2 separate regions of the Homo sapiens genome follow, and region 1 is linked to region 2. Evidence: promoter capture Hi-C in human tissues and cell types (Jung and others, 2019). All regions are on one chromosome and are shown on one strand. The core of a region is centred on a gene start or on the middle of the fragment in contact, and the rest is flanking DNA. Distances in the headings are between cores, read along the strand shown.

Region 1 (4,790 bases), core at 20-2,519, 270 kb before region 2:
CAAAGTGTTTAGGACTGAAAAGTACTATATGGAAGAGCTTCTAGAACTCCCCAAAACACCCAGTTCCTGCATATGCAAAAGTTACCAACTGTGGATTGAACTACCTTCCCCCCTAGTTTGGAAGGTTATTCCAAAAACAAACAGTTGTACCCTAGTTATGCTGCTGTGTACCCCCTCTCTCTCCTTTATCAAATCCTGTGACACAAGCTTCTATCTCCTCGTCATCCATTCATCATCAAACCCTGTGCCTCGCTGGAGCCTTAAATTCAAGTCTTTGCCTGTATGAAATTTCTGGGTACCAACGCAGTTAGTCTCCTGAATCTTGGTACCTAACATTTTCCCTTTGATATTGCACTTTATTTAATTGAGGTGGTATCTATGTCACCTACCTCATTATGCTTCAGTGTGTGTGTGTGTGTGTGTGTGTGTGTTTCAGAGTAAAATGAAACCTGCAAGCAGAACATTTTCATACCACTATTTACTACTAAGTATAATACAGTCTAATATCATGTATCCTAGAGCTTATTATAAGACAGAGTTTAAAAAAACAAAAAAAACAAAAAAAAAAACCTCATCATAACCAGTGAGGAACTGACAAGTACCCAGGGATCTGGTTTCTAGTTCAGATTTGCCATGAATAATCTAGGATGCCATGGACTCTTTACTTATCTCTCTGGACTTGCATTTCCTCTCTATAAAATTAGAGGCTTGAATCATAGCTGGTCTCTAAATCTCTCCCTGCTTTTACATTCTATGACTCCTACAGCCAGACCCTCTATAAGAGCTAAAAAGAAAAGCTAAAGCAAGGTGAGGGAACAGATGAGACCACGGTTCTAGGTGAGGTGCCATAGTCAAGAAAGGCCTTTCTGGGGAGGGGACAGTAGAACTGAAGCTGAAGGAAATGAGGGAGCCGACATGTGAGTATCTGGGGTACGAGTACTCTAGGTACAGCCTTTCTTAATGATGGTAGGTAATGCTCTTCTCAGCATGACAAGAAGTTTCATCCTCTACCATAGTTCCCATCCCTGTCAAGTAGGAACAACGCATAGAGAGAGATGATGCCAACCCAAGACAGGCCCCGCACAAGCTGGATGGGGCACAACAGGGACTGGGTGGTGCCCATGACTGAGCTGAAGTCTAGAAGTCATGGTGTAGAGGGTGGGGACAGTCAAATCCAGGTGAGCAGATCCAAACAAGTCATTGGCTTAAAGGGATTATTGAAGAATGGCATGCGAGACTTGAATGGGTCGGGGAAAGAGAAAAGCTGAAGTCCTAAGTTGTAAACCAGAAATTGTCCCAGAAAGCTGTATTTCGAACCAAGAGTAATGACCTGTAGGAGAGTTATTACATCAATTTAATGGGTCATGACCCGTTTATTTTTTTAATTATATTAGAAGAGAATGAACTTACCAGTGTATATCACATAAAGGGCAAGTGATTGTTCTGTGAAACATTTTTTTCTGTTGTAAACATGTATATGTTGAGTCATTTTGTAGAACTGACTTCTCATTGTGAGTGATAGTTTTAAAAAAAATTAAAAGCCAGTGGCCTAGAAAAAATTCCAGGTATGGACTGCAGAGGCCAGTGGCAGTTTTTCATTTAAAGATTTAGTGGATGGGCTGGGTGCAGTGGCTCATCCCTTGGGAGGCCAAGGCAGGCAGATTGCTCCAGCCCAGAAGTTTGAGACCAGCCTGGGCAACATGGCGAAACCACATCTCTACAAAAAAATGCAAAAATTTGCCGGGCGGCTGTGGTGGCGCATGCCTGTAGTCCCAGCCACTTTCGGGCTGAGGTGGGAGGATCTCTTGACCCCGGGAGGAGGCTGCAGTGAGCCGAGATTCACACCACTGCATTCCAGCCTGTCTCGAAAAAAAAAAAAAAAAAAGAAAGGAAGAGAGAGAGAGAAGAAAAAAAGAAAGAAAGAAAGAGAGAAAGGAAGAAAGAAAGAAAGAAAAAGAAAGAAAGAAAGAAAGAAAGAAAGAAAGAGAAAAAAGAAAGAAAGAAAGAAAGAAAGAAAGAAAGAAAGAAAGAAAGAAAGAGAAAGAAAGGAAGGAAAAGAAATTAATCCTCTACATATGGAGCTTTTTTAAAATGTTAAGTATACTAGAAAAGAAAGAGCAGAATCCAGAAATAAAAGACTTCTGCTCCCCCACCCTCTGTAACAAGGGACCAGAGGACCCCACCTACCCATCACCCTTTGTCACCACTATCACCATCACCACCACCCACAAAAAGAACAGCCTGATCCCTGACATGCTGGGTAAAGAATTGCTTGTAAACTGAAAGAGAGAAAACTCAAATGCCCACCAGAATATGAGAATAACAAGTAAATGAACCTGACCAAGTGTAAGAAAAATGGGAACGGTGGGGACTCTGGTGGAGGAAATACTTAAGCCCTGCCCTGCCCAAGAGGGGCAGCAGCTACTCAGCTCTCAGCAGCTGTTGTGCAAGAATGTGGACCAAGTGTTGTCAGATCTTGGTATTTTTTCAAGAGATACTGGAAATCCAGGTTTTTATAATGAAAAACATTTTAAAACACTGGGTAAGCCAAATGAAACATGTCTGAAGGCCTAAACACACTCACACTACACCAAGTGTGAATAGCTGCTGTGTGTAGGTGGTGATACTTGGGGTCATTTATATTTTCATTTTTACATTTCACTGCATGTTTCAGAATTTTAACAGTGAACATCATTTTACTTTTATAATGAGAGAAGAATGAAGGTTGTCAAATATTTAAAACTCTATTAACTAAACAGGTAGACATTTGAGTTTTCTCTTTTTAGTTTACAAGCAATTCTTTACCCATCATTTCAGACACCAGGCTGTTCTTTCTGTGGGTGGTGGTGATGGTGGTGACAAAGGGTGATAGGCAGGTGGGGTGCCCTGGCCCCTTGTTGTTTTATCCTGCATTAAGATCAGGATAAAACAACAAATGTTACAGAAATTTTCTCTGGGTGAATGTTTACATGTGACTAAATTTTTATGTTATGTTTTACAACAAAAGTTTGCAGTACATCACAAATAATTTCAGCCTAACTACAGCAATATGCCAAGTCTCAGGTTTGCTGATTCGAGGTTTGTGGTCACCATCTTTGGCTATTGTTTGCCCATCAGGACTTATGAAAGCAATTGCTTGTTCCATAATATTATTCTCATTTCTACTTAAGTATTTAGCCCAGCTTCTATAATATGCAAGTCTTCTGGATTCTGGCTAGATATTGGAAACAAAGAACAGGCAATTCTTCCCCTGGAGTAATTATAGTATAGTCTACTATCTAGAGTGGTTAGAGTGGTTATGTGTACTAAATGAGTTAAAATTTATAAAGCTCATGCCTCTAATCCCAGCACTTTGCAAGGCTGAGGAAGGTGGATCACCTGAGGTCAGGAGTTCGAGACCAGCCTGACCAACATGGAGAAACCCCGTCTCTACTAAAAATATAAAATTAGCCGGGCGTGGTGGCACATGCCTGTAATCCCAGCTACTCAGGAGGCTAAGGCAGGAGAATTGCTTGAACTGGGGAGGCGAAGATGAGTGATCAGTGAGCTGAGATCACACCACTGCACTTTTGTATTTTTTGTATTTTTAGTAGAGAGGGAGTTTCACCACGTTGCTCAGGCTGGTCTTGAACTCCTGACCTTGTGATCCACCCGCCTCAGCCTCCCAAAGTGCTGGGATTACAGGCGTGAGCCACCACACCTGGCCAGCATTTTTTTTAAATGAAAGAGAATGGAACAGACCTGAACACAATAGTGCCAGCAGTGAAGATAAATATTGTTTATTGAAAATTTGTGTGTTGTTTTATATAGAGGTACGTATAAGTGGCAGTTGTGGAGGTTAAAATTTTTTGAAAGCTACTTTACTCGACCAAAGTTGAAGCCTTGGCTTTATTTTCTGCATTGAGCTCCCTCTGTAAAACAGAGAAAGAAAATGTCTGTGTGTGTGTATGTACATTCATGTGCATATAACTATGTGCATGTATACATGTAATTATCCTAAAAGAATTTCAGAAAAAGCAGCCAGGTGCAGTGGCTTGCACCTGTAATCCTAGCACTTTGGGAGGCCGAGGCTGATGGGTTGCTTGAGGCCAGGAGTTCAAGACCAGCCTGGCCAACACAGCAAGACCCCATTTCTAAAAAAAAAAAAAAAATTTTTTTAATTAGCTGGGCATGGTGGCATGCATCCATAGTCCCAGCTACTGGAGAGGCTGAGACAGGAGGGTTGCTTGTGCCCAGGAGTTTGAAGGTGTGGTGAGCTTTGATCACGCCATCACATTCCAGCCTAGGCAACAGAGTGAGACCCTGCCTCTAAAAATCATAATAATAATAGATAAAAATAAAACAAGAACTTGAGAAAAAGGAACTTTTTAAGAGGAGAGAAGAAATCCCCCATTCCCCAAATAGATGGCCTAGATCTGAAGATGTTTATTCCAAGGGTAAACTTTTCATTACTAATAAATAGTGTTTACTGAGATCTTATTGCATGCCAGGCACTGAGCTAAACACTCCACATTTAATCCTCCCAACAACCCTATGAGGCGAAAATAAACACCAACAAAACAAAGAAACCCCAACAAACATTACAGATTTAAAATCTACAGGTAACAGATAACCCTCCCTCCCTGACTCCCCTCTCTGTCTCCCCCAGCCCCACTCTACGCACCCCCTCCCATCCTTTCTCTCTCTCCCTGTTTCATATTTCTGGAAAAGAAAAGAAGAATGGTCAAAAAGAAGGGAAAAGGGAAAAGAAAAGCCACGGAAATAAAACAGATGGGACAAGAGGAGAGGAG
Region 2 (4,928 bases), core at 490-2,989:
ATCGCTTGAACCCAGGAGGCAGAGGTTGCAGTGAGCCGAGATGGCACCACTGCACTCCAGCCTGGGCAATGGAATGAGACTCCATCTCGAAAAAAAAGAAAAAGAAAAGCAAGGAGAAAGCTACATCTATGAAAAAGCTAGGCACTGTCAGATGTGGTGGCTAACCCCTGTAATCCCAGCACTTTGGGAGACCCAGGTAAGAGGATGGCTTGAGCCCAAGAGTTTGAGACCAGCCTGGGCAACAACATAAGACCCCATTTCTCCAAAATATTTTTAAAAAACGGGGGAGGAGAGGAGGTCAGGCATGGTGGTGCGTGCCTGTGGTCCCAGCAACCTCAGGTACTAGGGAGGCTGAGGTAGGAGGATTGCTGGAGCCCAGGAGGTCAAGGCTGCAGTGAGCCGTGACTGTGCCACTGCACGTAAGCCGGGACAATAGGACAAGATCCTGTCTCAAAAAAAAAAAAAACAAAGAAAGAAGGAAGGAAGGAAACATAATTTAAAAAATCAAGTCCAAAAAAAAGCAAGCAAGAAGTAAAAAAAAAAAGCTCAGCACTGTCACAAGAAATATATGGCAAGAAAAGCTGGCAATTTCTATATACCTGTGAAACCCAAATTGTCACTTGCCTTAAGGATCAAATGTATCAATGGTGTGAGCCCAAAACTCTGTTGCAACTTCTTCACTTTCCCCAGATCTTCAATGGCAGCTTTGTTAAACTCAACAAGGCTTCAGTTAACACGCTGAGGATTGTGGAACCATATATCACATGGAGTACCTGAACCTGAAATCAGTAAATGAACTGATCTACAAATTGGTTATGGCAAAATCAATAAACAAATTACCTTAACAGATAACGCTTTGATTGCTAGATTTCCTGATAAATATGGCATCATCTGACTGGAGAATCTGATTCATGAGATCTATGCTGTTGAAAAACTCAAGTTCCTGTGATCCTTCAAATTATCTTCTCCACGAGGGAGAATGAAGGACTACCTATTTTGTATTAATAAAAGGTATAAATGCCAGCAACAGAAAAGACTATATCAACAGGCTTATTAAACGGATAAACTGAAGCATCTAACATTATTTTTGTAATCTGGTCAGTTAATAGCCAGTCACTACTTTCAAACTGGAAAAAACAAAAACCAAAACAAAAATGTGACTGACTCCTTCAAGACCAAAATACACCACTTTTTGCCTAGACGGCACTTTGAAATAGAGGGCAATACCATCATATTTCACGCTTGCCTTTCTACTTTTTAATACAGGTGAACTTTTTCTCCTTAATAGGAAAGAACACCAAGTAAAGAACAAATAGCAGTTATGGAAAATAGTTGCAAAAACTGCAGGGGGCTACAGAACAAAGGACTGAGTGTAGGCAGAGAGATAGAGATCCCCGAGGTGTGGGGCAGAGCCCACGCATCTGAATTCCAAGAACAGGCGCTTTCTGACAGAGAATACCAGGAAATGACTTCACATTTTTCCAGACTATCAACATACTTCATTCTTCCCAGTAGGAGAACCCAGGGCCTGTTCCACGCCCACAGACTTTGGTCAGGCAAAGCGGCCGCAGGGCGTCTGGGCTAAACGCAACCAGGAACACATTGGCAAACTTTTGCGCCTGCGCCCACCGGGCGTGCACCTGTAGGCTGAAGTCGCGCATGCGCTAGATGGGAACGTTGTTTCTTCTCCCCTACCCCTTTTCTGTGGGTCTGTTTTAGGGACAGACTGCTTCCGGGTCGAAGGGCTTGCTTCCGGAGAGCGGGAAGGCTAAAACGCGGTAGCTAAACTGCAGCCAACTTTGGTTGTGTGTGGAAAAGGCTTTAGCCATGGACAGGTCAGTACTGATGGTGGCAGCTGAGCCCGAAGTCTTGCCCGTCTCGCCTGTTGGCGAAACGAAATAGGTGAAACTAGACTCCCAGAAGAAGCCAAGGAGGTCCCGGGTGCTTCCCCTAAGGCTCCTTCCCCATGCCGGGAAATTTGGCCACAAATGGGGAAAAAGCCGCTTGGCGTGCGTCGGGGTGGGGTACAGATCATAATAGTCCCTTACTTTCCCACTACGTTCTGCGATCTATTCGGCGCTTTGGGGCAGCAACACTGTTCGCTCCTGGGGTGGGCGGGGTAGGTAGCGCGGCGTTCGAAATGCTAAGTGACCAGCCTGAGATCACAAAGCCAGTCAGTGAAGATACTGGGATCTCAGCCCAGACTTTCTGATTACAAGTGCCAGCATCAGATTCTGAGTTCCCTCTATGATCTGGGTACTGTGCTAGCCGCCTACAACAAAGATCAGTTATTCAAGATCCTTCCCCTCGGGGAATTAGTTGTGTAATGGAGACAACCAAGCAGTGTAAAGTGGTAAGTGTTTGGGGGCGATTAAGTCTCCTTGTCACTGTAACTATCAGGAAGACCCCTCAAAGAAGGTAACTTTCTAGCTGGTCTTTGAATAATAAGAGTACATTATTCGTACTCCAAACATTGAGTACCTACTATGTGACTGCCATTGTTCTAAAGGCGTTGAATATATATTATTAGCTTATTTAATCTTCAGAACAAGAAAAATCCTATGAGATGGGTACTGTTATCCTTTTTTCATATATAACACTGAGACTAAAAGAGGTTAAGGAACTTGCTGAAAGTTCGGAAGCTAATAAATACAAGAACCAAATTGCCAACCTGCATCTGTGTGTCTCCAGCCTACCTGAGGCTCTTTGAGGAGTAAGTAGTTGTTGACCAGGTGCTCAAGGGGGCAAATGTAGGTCTTTGTAAAAGAAGCATATTCAGAGGTGCTAGGATATGAAAAAAAAGTACGTGTAGCTCAGTGGTCACATGCAGTATACGTTTAAAGTGATGTTTGTGGCTGAATAGAAGACTGAACCCCTAAACTGGGGTCACATTGTAAATATCATTTTAGGAAATTTTTACTTCTATAGACCAGAGAGCTATCTGAAGGTTTTTTTTTTTGTTTTTAATTTTAATTGTTAAACGTTTAAAATTGTTTCTATGTGGTTGTTTCCCATACTTTCCTGCTGAAGGAATATCTGAAGGTTTTAAGTGGAGGAAAAGCATATTAGATTCTTGTCTTAAACACAGGCCTTTTAGTCCGCACAATTTAGTTTCTAGACCTTTGAGTGAAACTGACAGGGAGTGTTGTGATGGGACAGGAGACCTCCTGGGTTGAAATAACTTGAAGGGTCATTTTGCTCCAATTTACCACAATTCTTTTACTTACCCTTCTATCTCACAAGCTCTGTTTGTTGTTGTTGTTGCAAGCTCTGTTTGTTGTTGTTGTTGTTTGTTTGTTTTTTAATAGTACCCATGGTTTAAAGCATTTTGGAGACTGCAGAAAATCTTTTAAGAGAGAATTCCTGCAGTTAGGTAACTCCTCAATCCAACAAGGGAAATAAGATTCACTTTCATGAAGCAATTATCTAAAACAGTGTTATAATATAGATTCCAAGTGTTGAAATAATTCCTTAGGAGAAAATAACATAGTGAGTACTAGAAAGTCAGAGAAGTCTTTGTGCAGGTAAGATTTGAGTAAGGCTTTGAAGAATAAGCAGGATTTGGAGCCAGGAGTGCGTTCTCAACAAAAGATCTAAGACTTGGCTACTAGAATGACTATACCTTAACTTACTCAGGGTCCTTTACTCCAACTGTGATGATAAAATTCTTTATAAATGCTATATTCTCGTTTCACTTATATAAGCTTGATTATACTACTTTAGGAGTGGCTTTGGAGAGATATCATCCCCTGTAATCCGGGAGGCAGAGGTGACACGGACTGCACGGAAACAGAGTGCTCAGAAAAGAGTTTTACGTATCCTTTGCGATTTAAGCATCATTATAAAAATTGTAACATGTTTGGAATCAGTGTTGTAGAATTTTCTTTTTATAAGAGTATTAAATGGTAGCTATAATAAAATCCTGTAGAAACTTTTTTTCACTCCACAGAGCTGTCATTTGGTAAATATAATGCAAAAATTTAATGAGATCGTATTTCCCTAAAAATAAAGATATTTCTTACTGCTGACAGCTTCTGCTGAGATTAGATTTCTTTTTATTATTTGAAAACTGACTAAAAACATTTAGTTCAGTGTGTAGTTATCTAAGACTGACATCTGATCATTTAAATGGCAGAAGCAATGAATTATTTACCCTTTGCATTGAAAAATGGTAGCCCTAAAATACTTGTTCTTGAAAAATGTATTCACATAATTTGTATAGTAAAAAGATGGTTAATTCTCATTTTAGTGATCTCTTTTCTACATGGAAAACTTTTCTTAACTCGTTGTACAGTTCAGGCATCTCAAGATGAAAATTTTGGTAATACTACACCAAGAAACCAGGTTATCCCTCGAACTCCTAGCTCATTTCGACAGCCTTGTAAGATTTTTTGCTTTTAAAGCATTTAATAATAACGGTAATTATAATAGCAACTAACATTTATTGTAACATAATTAGTATAGTATTTGGTTACGATATCAATAAGCACTAATAATAATGATTGCAGTTATTATTCGTTTGAACTCTTGCCATGTACAAGGTACTGTACTTTCCATAAACACACGGTAACTATGACATGGGTATTGTTGGCCCTGTTTTACCAAAACTGAAAGTGAGACTTAGAGAAGTTAACTAATATATACAATAAGTATGTAAATAGGCTGGATGCAGTGGCCCATGCCTATAATCTCAACACTTTGGGAGGCCAAGGTGGGTGGATCACTTAAGGCCAGGAGTTCAAGACTAGCTTGGCCAACATGGCAAAACCCTATCTCTACTAAAAATACAAAAATTAGCTGGCGTGGTGGCACATGCCTGTAATCCCAGCTACTCCGGAGGGTGAGGCAGGAGAATTGCTTGAACCCGGAAGGCAGAGGTTGCAGTGAGCTGAGATTGTGCCACTGTACTCCAGCTGGGGCGACAGAGC

Evidence for each region. The method cuts DNA at HindIII sites, captures the fragments that hold promoters and counts their contacts. A contact is called where the count stands out against the background at its distance.
Region 1: a fragment that was not itself captured here is called in contact with the fragment with the promoter of NUP107 in region 2 in 1 of the 25 tissues and cell types used here (IMR-90 fibroblasts).

What each region holds. Positions count from the first base shown.
Region 1 is chr12:68,415,422-68,420,211 of GRCh38, forward strand. No RefSeq gene overlaps it. Among named protein-coding and RNA genes, the nearest start is that of LINC02384, 34 kb to the right of the region's middle. The HindIII fragment of the contact is 7,779 bases long and covers 1-4,790 here.
Region 2 is chr12:68,685,239-68,690,166 of GRCh38, forward strand. It overlaps NUP107 (nucleoporin 107), which reads left to right and starts at 1,740. Exons shown (of 28, transcript NM_020401.4): 1 at 1,740-1,835; 2 at 3,724-3,815; 3 at 4,295-4,381. The coding sequence starts at 1,828. LOC100507250 (a long non-coding RNA gene) reads right to left here and starts at 1,621. Exons shown (of 3, transcript NR_038930.1): 1 at 1,499-1,621; 2 at 625-779. It also overlaps the pseudogene RPL7P42. The HindIII fragment of the contact is 7,944 bases long and covers 1-4,557 here.